Linked DNA regions of Homo sapiens: region 2 is linked to region 1. Evidence: promoter capture Hi-C in 16 types of primary human blood cells and fetal thymus (Javierre and others, 2016). All regions are on one chromosome and are shown on one strand. Each heading gives the region's core, a stretch centred on a gene start or on the middle of the fragment in contact. The rest is flanking DNA. Distances are from core to core; before and after follow the strand shown. Region 1 holds the start of POLR1A (RNA polymerase I subunit A). Region 2 has its middle 4.8 kb from the start of KDM3A.

Evidence for each region. Contacts are between HindIII fragments. The CHiCAGO score rates a contact against its expected background, and 5 or more counts as called.
Region 2: a fragment that was not itself captured here is called in contact with the fragment with the promoter of POLR1A in region 1 in 1 of 17 cell types (fetal thymus); the score reaches 8.6 in fetal thymus.

What each region holds. Positions count from the first base shown.
Region 1 is chr2:86,102,767-86,109,003 of GRCh38, reverse strand. POLR1A (RNA polymerase I subunit A) reads left to right here and starts at 3,118. Exons shown (of 34, transcript NM_015425.6): 1 at 3,118-3,304. The coding sequence starts at 3,228. It overlaps PTCD3 (pentatricopeptide repeat domain 3), which reads right to left and starts at 2,769. Exons shown (of 24, transcript NM_017952.6): 1 at 2,653-2,769; 2 at 602-654; 3 at 468-504. The coding sequence starts at 2,756. RefSeq lists enhancers at 2,459-2,718, 3,099-3,308, 3,509-3,598. The HindIII fragment of the contact is 4,349 bases long and covers 2,390-6,237 here.
Region 2 is chr2:86,433,211-86,440,020 of GRCh38, reverse strand. It overlaps a transcript of KDM3A not described here. Among named protein-coding and RNA genes, the nearest start is that of KDM3A, 4.8 kb to the left of the region's middle. The HindIII fragment of the contact is 3,550 bases long and covers 118-3,667 here.

The DNA.
Region 1 (6,237 bases), core at 1,869-4,368:
CAAATGTTGAATAAATGAGATGAGGCAATTTGTTCAAGGATATATCCAGTGAATAAAAAAGCTAAATTTTGCTGTCCACACCATTTACTTTATTTTTACCTCATTAGAGATAATAAAGACAGTAACTGTCTGCTCTTGAATCATATGAGAGAACTTCCTTGAAAAAAATTATTCTAATGATGATGTTCATGTATAACCATGTATTATTAACCACGTAAATAGTAACCCACACTAATTCAAAATCTCTTTCAATTGTTCTTTTAAGTAAATCTCATTGCTCATTCACTCACTATTCTCCACCTTTCCATTTTTTGTCCTTTAAACTCCTAGCTTCTCCCCGCTCAGCTACTCTCTTCAAGAATGCTCTCCTATTGCTCTTCCTGTCACTGTCTCCTTACCTAACCCTTACACTTCTCTCATAGTAAGCACTCAACCATTTGCTGAATGAACACTGATAGAATACTTACCAAGTTTTCTTTTTTGGAATTACTACTTCTTCAATCCCTAATGTAAAAAAGAAAACATGAATCAGTTTCCTAGTACTACAATGGAATCCAACGTGTTGATATAAAAATAGAATTCAATATATTTTAAAATATACCTGTTACATCAGTTCCTTCAACCTTTGAGAGGGTTGCACTACCAGAATAAAATCTGCAAAAAAACAAAAGCCTTAAATCTAATAGTCATTAATGAAGTACCCAGCTCACCTCCACCTATGTGTACTTTGAGCCCAAATTCTCCAATTATCACGGATTAAACTGGATAACTCATGTCAATGAACGCTGAGAAGACAGTCTGTACACATGTTCAATATCATTAAGGAATGGATACAAGATATGGACAAGACTGTCAAAACTTTTTTTTTTTTTTTTTTAGAGACAGGGTCTTGCTCCATTGCCTAGCCTTTAGTGAAGTAGTGCAATTATAGCTCACTGAACCCTTGAACTCCTGGGCTCAAGTGACCCTCCTGCTTCAGCCTCCTGAGTAACTAGGACTACAGGCATATGCCACCATGCCCGGCTAGACAAAAGTTTTGGAAGCAAGCAATCTCATTACATAAATGGCAGAGAGGGAGGAAAGTTTTTAATAGCACTTGAACAATCTGGTTTGAAATGAAGAACTTTCAACTTCAGGAACCCAAAACACTATGATGTTTAAAAGAACAATTCAGTGAGCTCTTGCTTCTATACAGATACTGCCCTGATCAGAAAGGACTACCTCACTTAAAGCAATTACAACATAGGGAAGATGACCCATGGCTTCTCATTCCACTTCTTTCAACAATCAAGAATGTACCAAATACATAAGGCCTGATTTAGACTTGGAATTGCTGATATTTTCTATTTTCAGAGGTTCAATATGAAATCCTTTTTAAACCAAAATATAGAATCATTGGCCCATGACTGAGTTTTTAAGTGTTCTGTTTAAGTGTTCTGATCACACTAAAAACACAGTCAACACACCACAGATAATGTGACGGTTAGTATTATCTTGTGTTTCCCCTTACTAAATGGCATCAGTAACATTCAGAAAATTGTCAAGATGTGATTGCACAGACAGATACTTCCTCCAGTAGTATCTGGTTTCAGGTATCATTTAAAACAAGAATACCCCTCTACGTTAAGGACATTTCAGAAAGAGATCAACTCTTTCAAGTTTCTGAGATCAACTCTTTCAAGTCACACTATTTGTTTCTCATGACCTTAAAACAGAGATCACAGTTATTTTGAGAACGGATGCTGAGGAAGAGATTCTGCTTCAGGCAAAGAAAATGAGTAGAAAAATGCTAACGATGGCTACCAGGAAACGGAGGACTGGCATTGAATGGCAGCACAAAGGTTTCTGCAGTATCAGATGGAGTGGTTTCTCTTTCTTGAGGGGAACTAAGGGAGAGTACATATAAAAACATATTGTAAATTACATACCCCACTTATACCTCACAAACTTTTCGGATGGTTATTACCAACTCTAGTCTGCAGATGAGGAAATCTGTCTATTATCATCCAATTAAGTGAATGGCAAACACTAAACCTAAAATTAGGCTTTTAGCAAGTTTTCACTACAAATTACTGCCTCTCATATTCCCACAATGCCACTGTTTGTACTGAGTGAAAAAAAAATTACACAGATAGGTCATACATGTTCCAAGCTATAACTATCACAGATCAAAAGGGCATAGTCAGATCTTTTAGACTTTTCTGCTTTTACGAAAACCTGATAACTTCTTTAGCCAAAGTCCCCACGGTGGCGACCAGAGACTGCCTTTTATTTGGGAAGATCTTGTACGTTCTCCTCGCTCCTCCTGATTGGGTTAAAATGAGTAATGGCGGATAATTTTTAATTTGGGGTAGTGTTGCTAATAGCCACACTCACTGGAACGCAAGCTTCATGAGAGCAGGGTCCTAGCTTTGCGGATGGTGTTAACTACAGAATATTGCAAGCAACCAATAAGTATTTCTCTAATGAATAAATGCGTTGCGAATCCTATTTCAAAGGGCCACCTCCGCGTACCTGGTCTTAAGGGCACGCGACCGTTAAGGGCGCGCATGAGCAAACCATTTCATCGTGCCTACTTCCACAGCCAGCTGGGAAACATAGGACTAAGGTGACTCCGCGGTCTTCTTCGCGGATACCCTAAGCGTCTCTTACCTGCAGCTGCGTGCCTGTTCACACAAACCCGCCCGCCGACCCGTCAGCGGCTGGCCAAGCCTGCTGCGGAGGCCCAGCCAGCGAACAGCAGATACAACCGCCATCTTTGATTTCTCTGCAGAGCATGTTGGGAAAGCGTGCCTCGACCTTCAGGAAGGTGGGGCGCAGTGGGCGGGGAGCAGGGAACAGCTCCGCTATTGGCTGAAGCGGAAGAAGACGAAAGCAATCATAAAATGGGAGGTTGCAAGCTCATGGTTTGAAAGACTTCGTCACGGAAGCTAAAAGCTCTATACACCCGATTTGCCTCGGAGGAATTTTCCTAAATGATTATTTTGATGTCTTATATATCTTTGATTGTTTTCAAAACAAAAGAGCGAGCAGAGAGTCGTACAACTATTTGTTCCCCCCCCATGTAGAAGTGATCTCATCCACGTAAATGTCGTTCCTGCGACCGCTTCCGCGCGCAAGCGCACGTTGAATCGCGTGGTGACTCCGGGCTTGAGGTTGAATTAAGAATAGTCAGGTGGTGAGTGGAACGTCTCTTGGGGTGTCGGAATTCAAAACGGACCTGGAGGATGTTGATCTCCAAGAACATGCCCTGGCGGCGGCTGCAGGGCATTTCCTTCGGGATGTATTCGGCTGAAGAGCTCAAGTAAGGAGTTGGTCGGGTAGCGTGCCCAGCCTGGATCTTGAGGTCGGCGCCCTAAACTACGATTCCCAGAAGCGCTTTTGCCCAGTCTATCCTCTTGAGTCCAGGCTTGTCTGGCGCTTGTCCTGCTGGGAGCCGTAGTTCTGGGAACGTTCCTGGGCCGGCGTGGACTGCCTGGATAAGAGGCCGGTGGTGCTGGGGGAAAGAGTTTGCGCTGAGGTAGGGGAATATAAGGGTGGGGAGGGTCCTGGTCTGCAGCGTTATCATCTGCCAGTCTCCTCGTTAACTAACAAGCATTTGTGGAATTAACCATAGTGTACCTGACATGGTTAATTAGGCACGTAGTAAGTTTCCTCTTGTTTGTAAAATGATTGTCCTTCAAGTGTCAGTTCAGGCGTTAACTTCTCTTTGCTAGGACCCTGCTATATTCTCGGTCTGGTTGTTAAATCAAGGGAACTCTCTTTAGTCTTCATTTTGATCAAGGTAGCATTTGACATTCTCCAATGCACTCTCTTGAAACTTTCCTTTCTTCCAGAACCTTATTTGTCTTCAAGTTCTCCTATTTTTATGACAAATACTTCTACCTCCCTCTCTTCCTCTATCGATCTATAACCTCACAAACATTTATTGAGCATCCAGTTTTTTCCAGGCACCAAGCTAGGCGTTAATGACACATTGGTGAGCAAGGTCTGTACCTCATTTTACTCCTTAAATGTTGATGTTCTTCAAGATTCTATTCTAGTAATGTTTTCTTCATGGTAAATATTGTCCCTAGACAATCTCACCACTTTCATGATTTATAGTCTCAAATTTAAATCCCCAACGCAAATTTATTTCCCTGATTTTCAGACCCATTTGTTCAGCTGTCTGTACATCTTTAATTGAATTTCACACAGAGATCTTAAATGCATATCAAAAACTCAACATGGCCTAAATGCATATCAGAAACTCAACATGGCCGGGCACGGTGGCTCACGCCTGTAATCCCAGCACTTTGGGAGGCCGAGGCCGGCGGATCACGAGGTCGGGAGATCGAGACCATCCCTGGCCAACATGGTGAAACCCCGTCTCTACTAAAAATACAAAAATTAGCTGGGCGTGGTGGCGGGCACCTGTAGTCCCAGTTACTCGGGAGGCTGAGGCAGGAGAATCGCTTGAACCCAGGAGGCGGAGGTTGCAGTGAGCCGAGATTGTGCCACTGCACTCCAGCCTGGCGACAGAGCAATACTCTGTCTCAAAAAAAAAAAAAAAAAAACTCAACACGGCATCCCTCTTCAAAGGGAGGGGTTACTTACCCCTCCAAAATGGTGTACGTAGTGCAAAATAGTCACTAGAAACTGGAAAATTATTCTAGATCTCTCCTGACATATAACTTATTTATTGGGCTCTTACTTTGTGTCACCTACATGTCTATTTGTTCTTAGTCTCCTTTTTCTCCCAATTGCTACTGTGTTGCCTCTGGCCCTTATCTCATATTTGAATTGTCTTTTCCTTCCACCCTCCCCTTACACCTCTCAAGTGCATGCTCCACACTGCTGTCAAAATTATTCTTGCAAAGTGCAAATGTAGTCATGCTACTGTCACCCTTAAAACCCTCCAAATGTTCTCCATTTCCCTCAGATAAAGTATATTTTCTTAGCATAGCCTGCAAAGTCTCCCATGATCAGACCAATGCTGATTTTAGCTATAACATCATCCCTTCTTCAGCCCTATTAAACCACCTGCATATTCCAGAAACCGCCATCATATTTCAACATCTGGGCCTTTCTTTAAGCTATTCCCTCTGCATGCAGTGTCCTTTCAGCCAAAAGGAGGTACTTCCCTCTGTCCCCTACCCAACATACACACCTGAAAGCTCAGTTCACCTCCCTTGTTTTGTGAGGTCATTTTGCACATGATACAGTTGTCTGTCATGGTGCTTTAGTGACTTTTTGTGCTTATGTATATTTGTCTTCCTCCACTATCCTTGAGCTTCTTATATGTGTCACTCTTGTCTTTTATCCTCAAGTCTGAATAAATGGATGAATAAACTCCTGAGCCACAGCTCTGGTATCATTGGTAACAGTGTGCTAGCCCAGAAATTCCAATTATATCATCACTGCCATAAGTGGATACGATTTCATCCAAAAGCAGAAGTGTTTTAAGTTGCCTGAATTTTTAAAAAGATAATTGTGGAGTTTTCAAACAAGTTTAGAGTTGAGACATTTCAATAATACTGCCACCTTTTATTGTGCCAGGTTCTAATAGCTTCCCATCTCACTCAGAGTAAAAACCAAGTCTTTACAAATGGCCTGGAGGGGTCATTTCAGTCTCCTGTTACCTCTCTGATCTCACCTCTATTCTGGCTACCCTGACCTCCTTGCTGCATCCAGAGCACCACGGGCACACATCCACCTCAGGACCTTTGCACTCCCTGCTTCTTCCTCCTGTAAAACCCTCTGCCCAGGTGACTGTATGGCCTGCTCCCTCAACTCCTTCAGCCTTTGCCCAAGTTCCTCCTTAGTGGGCTTCTAGGACCACTTGCCTACTCTGCTCTTCCCTTTCCCTGCATTATTTTTCGTCATAGCCCTTTCTGCCGTCTAACAGACTATACATTTTGTGTCTGTTCCCGTTCCTCCAATAGAATGTAAGGCCTGTAAGCATAGCAGTTCTTGTCTGTTTCCTTAGCACTTAACACTGTCTGGCACACAGTGAGCACTCTGGGTATTTGTTGAGTGTATGAATAGATGGATAGAGGAGCTAGCTGCTCAGTGCTTGGCACTTTCAGTCCTTAACGACACCCATTCTCAGTTCTTAACAACACCATTTGTGGTGGCACCTCCAGTAAAAAATTCAGGCCCAGAGAACAAAATGTCTCTCTAGGAAGTGGCAAAGGTCATCTTCAAACCTAAGTCTATTGATCTCAAACTCTACTGACTGGTGGAATCCTTGCTAGT
Region 2 (6,810 bases), core at 643-3,142, 330 kb before region 1:
ATTTACAATAAATGTAAATGGGTTAATTTCACTCACAAGTTTTAAAAGACAGTTGGGAATAAAAGGACAATCCAGCTATAAATTGACCATAAGCAAATGCTTACAAAACAGGAAGCTTGAAAATACTGGGCTAAAATATTTAATCAAATGGTAGCCAAATGAAAGCAGTATAGCAATATTAATACAATTAAAAGTATCAAAAGAGAAAGGATTTTATATTAAAGATAAAGTCCATGAAGACAGTATGGTCTCCTGAACTGTTATGAATCTAAAAACATGGCCTATCCTAAGGTGACGCTATGAACGATGAGAAATTTTACAAATTTGACAATTTGTTTTCAGAGTAGAAGACATAAATATCTCAGAAATATGCAACTCAAATGTAAAATATAAGGGAAGATATGGAGAACTTAGATTATGTAATTAAATATTAATTTGAAAAACAACTCAAGGGAAAAATTCTATTGAACCTGAAGGAACATATACTTTCTATGTTGAATTCATTATTTCAGAGCTTAGAAAAGATGGAAAGATATCCAATGCATTTTATAAAAGTTATAAAACCGTTTCACAAATTCTGAACTGGGCGAGTATAAGAAAGAAAAACTATGGTTCAATTATACTTAGGAACATAGATGGGAAATTCTTTTATAAAATACCAGCAAATTAAATCCAGCAGCATTTTTTTTAGGTAATTGATATGATTAATTAGTGTTATATGAATGCAAAGATACTTCAAGATTAGAAAATTACTAAAATTCACCATGACAGGTTAAAAAAGAAAAATCGTATATTCACCTTAGGGCTAAATAGAGCATGCAGTCACATTGAACACTTGTGATCTTAAGAGTATTTTTAAATTACATAGAAAACTAAGAAGATTATAAGTGTACACTTATATTCAATACCACCCATAATTTTTAAAAAATGTTTTTAAACTTTCTAAAAACCTAGGAATATAAGTTACGTACCACAGAAAAACACCCACACACATATGAACGAAAAAACATCTGCAAATAACCTAAGTGTACTCCAGTTGGAGAAGGAATAAATAAAATTATTAACAATAAATGGAATGTAATGCATATATTGGAAAGTTGTAGAGGATTTGTAAAGGAGTCAAAGCAGCTAGATGTTCCAATAAAAATAGTTACCAAAATACATTATGAATGAAAAAGAAATTTGCATTTGGTACTATTTCAAAATACACATACAAAAACAACAGTATATATGTTCTGTTAAATATGGTTATTAAAACTTACAGTAATGGTTACTGGTATTAGGGGGTGCACACTAGAATTAGGGGTATTAGTCAAAGACAACACATATTATTTGTAATTCTAATTTTTTATAAATACACTTTTTTTGTATTTACATTTTTATCACCTTATTTTTAATTGACAGGTAAAACTATATGGTGTACAATATGATGTTTTGGTATAGATATACATTGTGGAATGGCTATATCAAATTATTTTACATATGCATTCCCTCACATACTCATCTTTTTTTGTGTGGTGAGAACACTTAAAATCCACTCTTAGCAATTTTCAAATATACAATATATTGTCATTAACTGTAGTCACCATGATGTACATTAGATCATTTGAACTTATTCCTCCTGTCTAACTGAAATTTTGTGTCCTTTGACCAACATCTACCCAATCTCCCCACTCCCTGTAATTCTCTCATTTTATAAGGTAAATGTACTCACATGTTACTTTTAAAATTTAATTTTTAACTCTCATTAATGGAATCTGCTACATTAACAAATTAAAGGAGAAAATACATATGATTATCTCAATAGATACACCAAAAATTTTATATACTTCATTTTCATTCATTATAAAAACTCTTAGCAAACTATCAAGAAAAGAAAATTTTATAACTCTATAAAGGATATCTACCAGAAATATACTTAAACATTGTACTTAATTGTGAAATTTTAGAAAAATTCCCAATAAAGTCAGGAGCAAGATAAGGATGCCCAATGCTGTCATTACTATTCAAGTTACAATAGAGGTTAATTGCTAATGTAATAAGACAAGAAAAATAATACAATGTAAACATTGGAATGGAAGAAAAAGCCCAAAACATTTGTAGATAAATCAAAAGCATCAGTGACAAATTATTAGAATTAAAACAAGAATCAAAAAGATAATGCAATAAAAGATCAACAAACGAAAATCAAAAGAATTCCTATTCCTTAGCAAGCATCAATTAGAACATACAGTAGAAAAATAAAAACCATTAATGATAATAAAACATGTAATCCCTAAAAATTAATACATGAAATGAACACAACCTATATGAAGAAAATTAGACTTTGCTGACATGTATAAAGAAGATGAAAAATTCTGTCTCTTGATATGATCTGATAAATATGTCATTTCTCCTCTAACAAAACAACAAATAAAAACATCAAGACATAAATATATAAGTAATGAAGAGAACAAAGAAACAGACCCAGTGTATATTAAAAATTAGTTTGTGATCGACATATTTCTAGTGGGTGTAAAGAATAAACTATGCAATACATGCTTTGAGGTCTATTGATTATCCATTAAAAATGTATATATAAGCCGGGCGCAGTGACTTATGCCTGTAATCCCAGCATTTTGGGAAGCTGAGGTGGCAGATCACTTCAGGTCAGGAGTTTGAGACCAGCCTGGCCAACATGGTGAGACCTCATCGCTACTGTAAAAATTAGCTGGCTGTTGTGGTGCACATCCACAATCCCAGCTACTCGGGAGGCTGAGACAGAAGAATCACTTGAACCTTAAACCCAGGAAGCAGAGGTTGCAGTGAGCTGAGATCACGCCACTGCACTCCAGCCTGGATGACGAAGCAAGACTCTGTCTCAAAAAAAAAAAGTATATAATGTATATATAACCAAGATTCCTACACCAACATTCACGAAAATAAGTTCCAGGTAGATCAAAATGCTACATATTTTAAAATCCAATAAAATATTTTAAAATTCCCTCCTCTCTTCTACTTTTTTCTCTTTCCTTTCCTCTTTCTAAACATTTCAGTCTTGAGGCCATTAGGAGGGGCAGAGCAAGATAGGTGTTAATAAGGAGAGGCTGTCAGCCATGGGATGTTAGAGCTCTAAAGAGTAAGGAGTAATAGCCGGGCATAGACAGTCAGAGCCCAAGTGGGGTGAGAAGGGTAGACACACAAAAGGTTAACCTAGCCTGGGTTATCTAGAGTCCAAGTGAGGTGAGGAGGGCATCCATGAATGGGGGCAGCCTAGTGTGGTATGTTGGAGCCCAAACAGAGTGAAGAGACTGTTTACATGAGAAGAAAGCCTGGCATGAGTAACAGAGCCTGAGGAGGGGGAGGAGAGTGTGTAGGAGAGTGATTTGACATGGATGTCAGACCCCAAGGAGGGTGAGGAGGGCATTCATGTAGGGACCAGCAGTGGGCACTGAAAAGACCAAGAGATCTCTTAGAAGCAGCAGGAGAACCAGGTGAGAGGTACATTCTGGAAGCAAGCCAAAAAGAGTTTCAACTTGGAAGACCATGCAGTAAGGTCAAAGGATACACTGAGGTGAAGACAGATGGAGGACTGAGCAGCAGGATATTGAAACTGCCAACAAATATATTTTAGCCACTGGGTATTGCCAGAAATAACTTCCACTGGTTAGTAAAAATTATCCAAGCTTCAGGGTATATATTCCAGTCAAATCCTGACACTAACTTGCTGTGTCAACCCTAGCTCCAGAGGACATCAGAAGTTCCCAAATGCCTTAAGAAAGTTGGCAACAGAAAATTTGGAATATGCTTGACCTTGATTTCTCAATTTCAAAACAATTAGAGCACAATATTTTTGCCTAAATCTGCTTCCCTGAAATAGCACAAGAATAACTCGTGTTTTATGTGAAAATCTAAATGTCTTATGCTATTTCTGTTAAGGCAAAGCACCTGTGACAATTAATGAAGTCATCCCAGAGTGTCAGCGCTAAGCTCCTTGCCTCTGGGTATTTTAAAGACTTTTTCTGTTGAGGAATAATTTATATCCAGAGAAAAGCATAGATCTTAAGTGAACATTTTTATCAGCTTATGAATTACATGCATCCAAATAACCTACACCCCATCAAGATATAGAACAGGGGTCAGCAAACTACAGCCACAGGCCAAATCTGTTCCACTGCCTAATTTTCTACAGCGTTTCAAGAGTGGTTTTTACATTTTTTAATATATGAGGGGGAAGCGAGAACAATGTTTTGTGACACATTAAAATTATATAAAATTCAAATTTTATATAATTGGTGAGAAATTATTATATTATTATTATATTCTTTGTGTCTACAAATAATATTGTTTTAATTTTTATTTTATTAATAATTTTTTTAAAAATAGAGATGGAGTCTCGCCATGTTGTCCAGGCTGCTCTCGAACTCCTGAGCTCAAGTGATCCACCTGCCTTGGCCTCCCAAAGTGCTGGGATTACAGGCCTGAGCCACTGCACTCAGCTATAAAGAATATTTTAATAGAACATAGCCATACCCATTTGTTTATGTTTTATCTATGGCTGATTTCACACTACAGTGATAAACTTAAGTAGTTATAACAGAGACTGTATGTCCTTGAAAGCCAAAAATAATAATACTTTTGCTCCTTATAGAAAAGATTTGCCAAAGTCTGAGACAGAATATTTCCATGACCTCTAAATATTCCCTCATGCTGGGAAGGAAGTACTCCTTCCCAGAGTAACTGTTGTTCCAGTTTCTATCATCATAAATTACCTTTGCCCGTTGTTTAATTTAAAGGCAGTAATACAGTATATACTCTTTTGTGTCTAGCTTCCTTTACTCAACATGTTTTTGAGAGTCATCCAGGTCATCACATCTATAGGAATTTTGTTCCTTTTCATTGCTGGGTAGTATCCCGATGTCTGAATATGCCACAGTTTGTATGTCCACGCTTTTTTTGTTTTGTTTTATTTTGAGACAGCATCTTGCTCTGTTGCCCAGGCTAGAGTACAGTGGCGTGATCTCAGCTCACTGCAATCTCTGCCTCCGCGGTTCAACCAATTCTCCTCCCTCAGCCTCAGCCTCCCAAGTAGCTGGGACTACAGGGGCGTGCCACCATGCCTGACTAGTTTTTGTAGTTTTTTAGTAGAGATGGGGTTTCACCATGTTGGCCAGGCTGGTCTCGTACTCCTAACCTCAGGTGATCCACCTGCCTCAGCCTCCCAAAGTGCCGGGATTACAGGTGTGAGCCACAGTGCCCAGCCAATATGTCCATGCTTTGTTGATGGATATCTGAACTGTTTTCAGTTCTTGGATACGATGAATATGTTTGGGTTTAAAAACACTTCTTAATGTTTTATTTGTTTTCCTTTTCTGCTCTTTATATTTTCCAACATTTTTACTCTTTCTGCATCTCTTCCTGAAAAACCAGACTTCCATCTGATATAATTTCCCTTCAGCCTAATCAGCCTTAAGAAATAGATTCATACCTTTTTCAGTAATTTAGATATCAATAAGGACAAATAAAGGGCATAATAAAATATTTGCTTACTGTGCATTTCTGCTCATTGGTAATACTAAGTCAAGAATTTGATATATATTCAACTCAGTTGCATTACATGTTTCTATGTATATGATTTGATTAACCAAAAAATGTATGCAATGTCAAGGTTTTTTCTTGTTTTGTTTTTTAAAATAAGAGCAGTTCAACAGCACTGGGAGTTGTTTAATACAATACAGAGAGCATAAGGAAAGAAGTACAAAATGTCATTTAGCAGCAATGGCAAAACATCTTACTATGTTTATAATTAAGGATATTATTAATGTTGTGTTGTTTATGTTGTTTTAGAACATACATGAAAGATATTCATTTGACTTTGAGGTATATATACAAGACATAACACAATTACATGAAAAATATTTTTCATAAGTAACATTATGTTTTAACATATTGGAAAGTGAATATCAATGTTGGTTTGTATTTTAACTTAATAGACAAAAAAAGAACACAATTGAACCAGGAAGAGTTAATACTGATAGTAAAGCTCTTAAATATGTCTTCCTTTACCTTTGTACTTACCACAGGCTATACAATGTTGTGAAAGGGTTCATTATGAAAAAAGTGTCAGTCACCACTTTGAGACCTTACTTTGGAAGAAACTAATGAGAAAGTCAATTGGAAGATGAGACTTCATCTTTGTTTTCAAATAAGTTGTCTTAATTTTTCTTCTTATGGAATAAGTTTAAATAAGTTTATTATACATAAATCTAAACTATTAATTTTTGCAGCTTTCAGGTAAAGTCTAGCTCTTATTTTACTCTAATGAACTTATTTTAGTATATCTTGAAGTTGAGACCTGCTGGAGATAAATTATTTCAGCTTTCATCTATTCAATAGGTTTTAATTTCACCTTCATTTTTTTTAGAGACAGGATCTTGCTATGTTGTCCAGGCTAGTCTCAAACTCCTGGCCTCAAGTGATCCTCCTACCTTGGCCTCCCAAAGCGTTGGGATTACAGGTGTTAGGCACTGCACCCAACCTCACCTTCATTTTTGATTTTTTGGATTTTTGTAGATTGATTTTATATCCTCCAACTTTACTGAATTTATCAGTTCTAAGAGTTTTTTGGTGGAGTCTTGATTTTTTTATGTATAAATCATGTTATCTGCACACAGGACAATTTGACTTCCTCTTTTCCAATTTGAATGCCCTTTCTTTCTCTTGCATAATTCCTCTGGGCTGGCCTACGGCTTCCAGTACTATGTTGAATACAAGTGGTGCAAGTGGGAATGTTTGTCTTGTTCTAGTTCTTAGAGAAAAAGCTTTCAACTT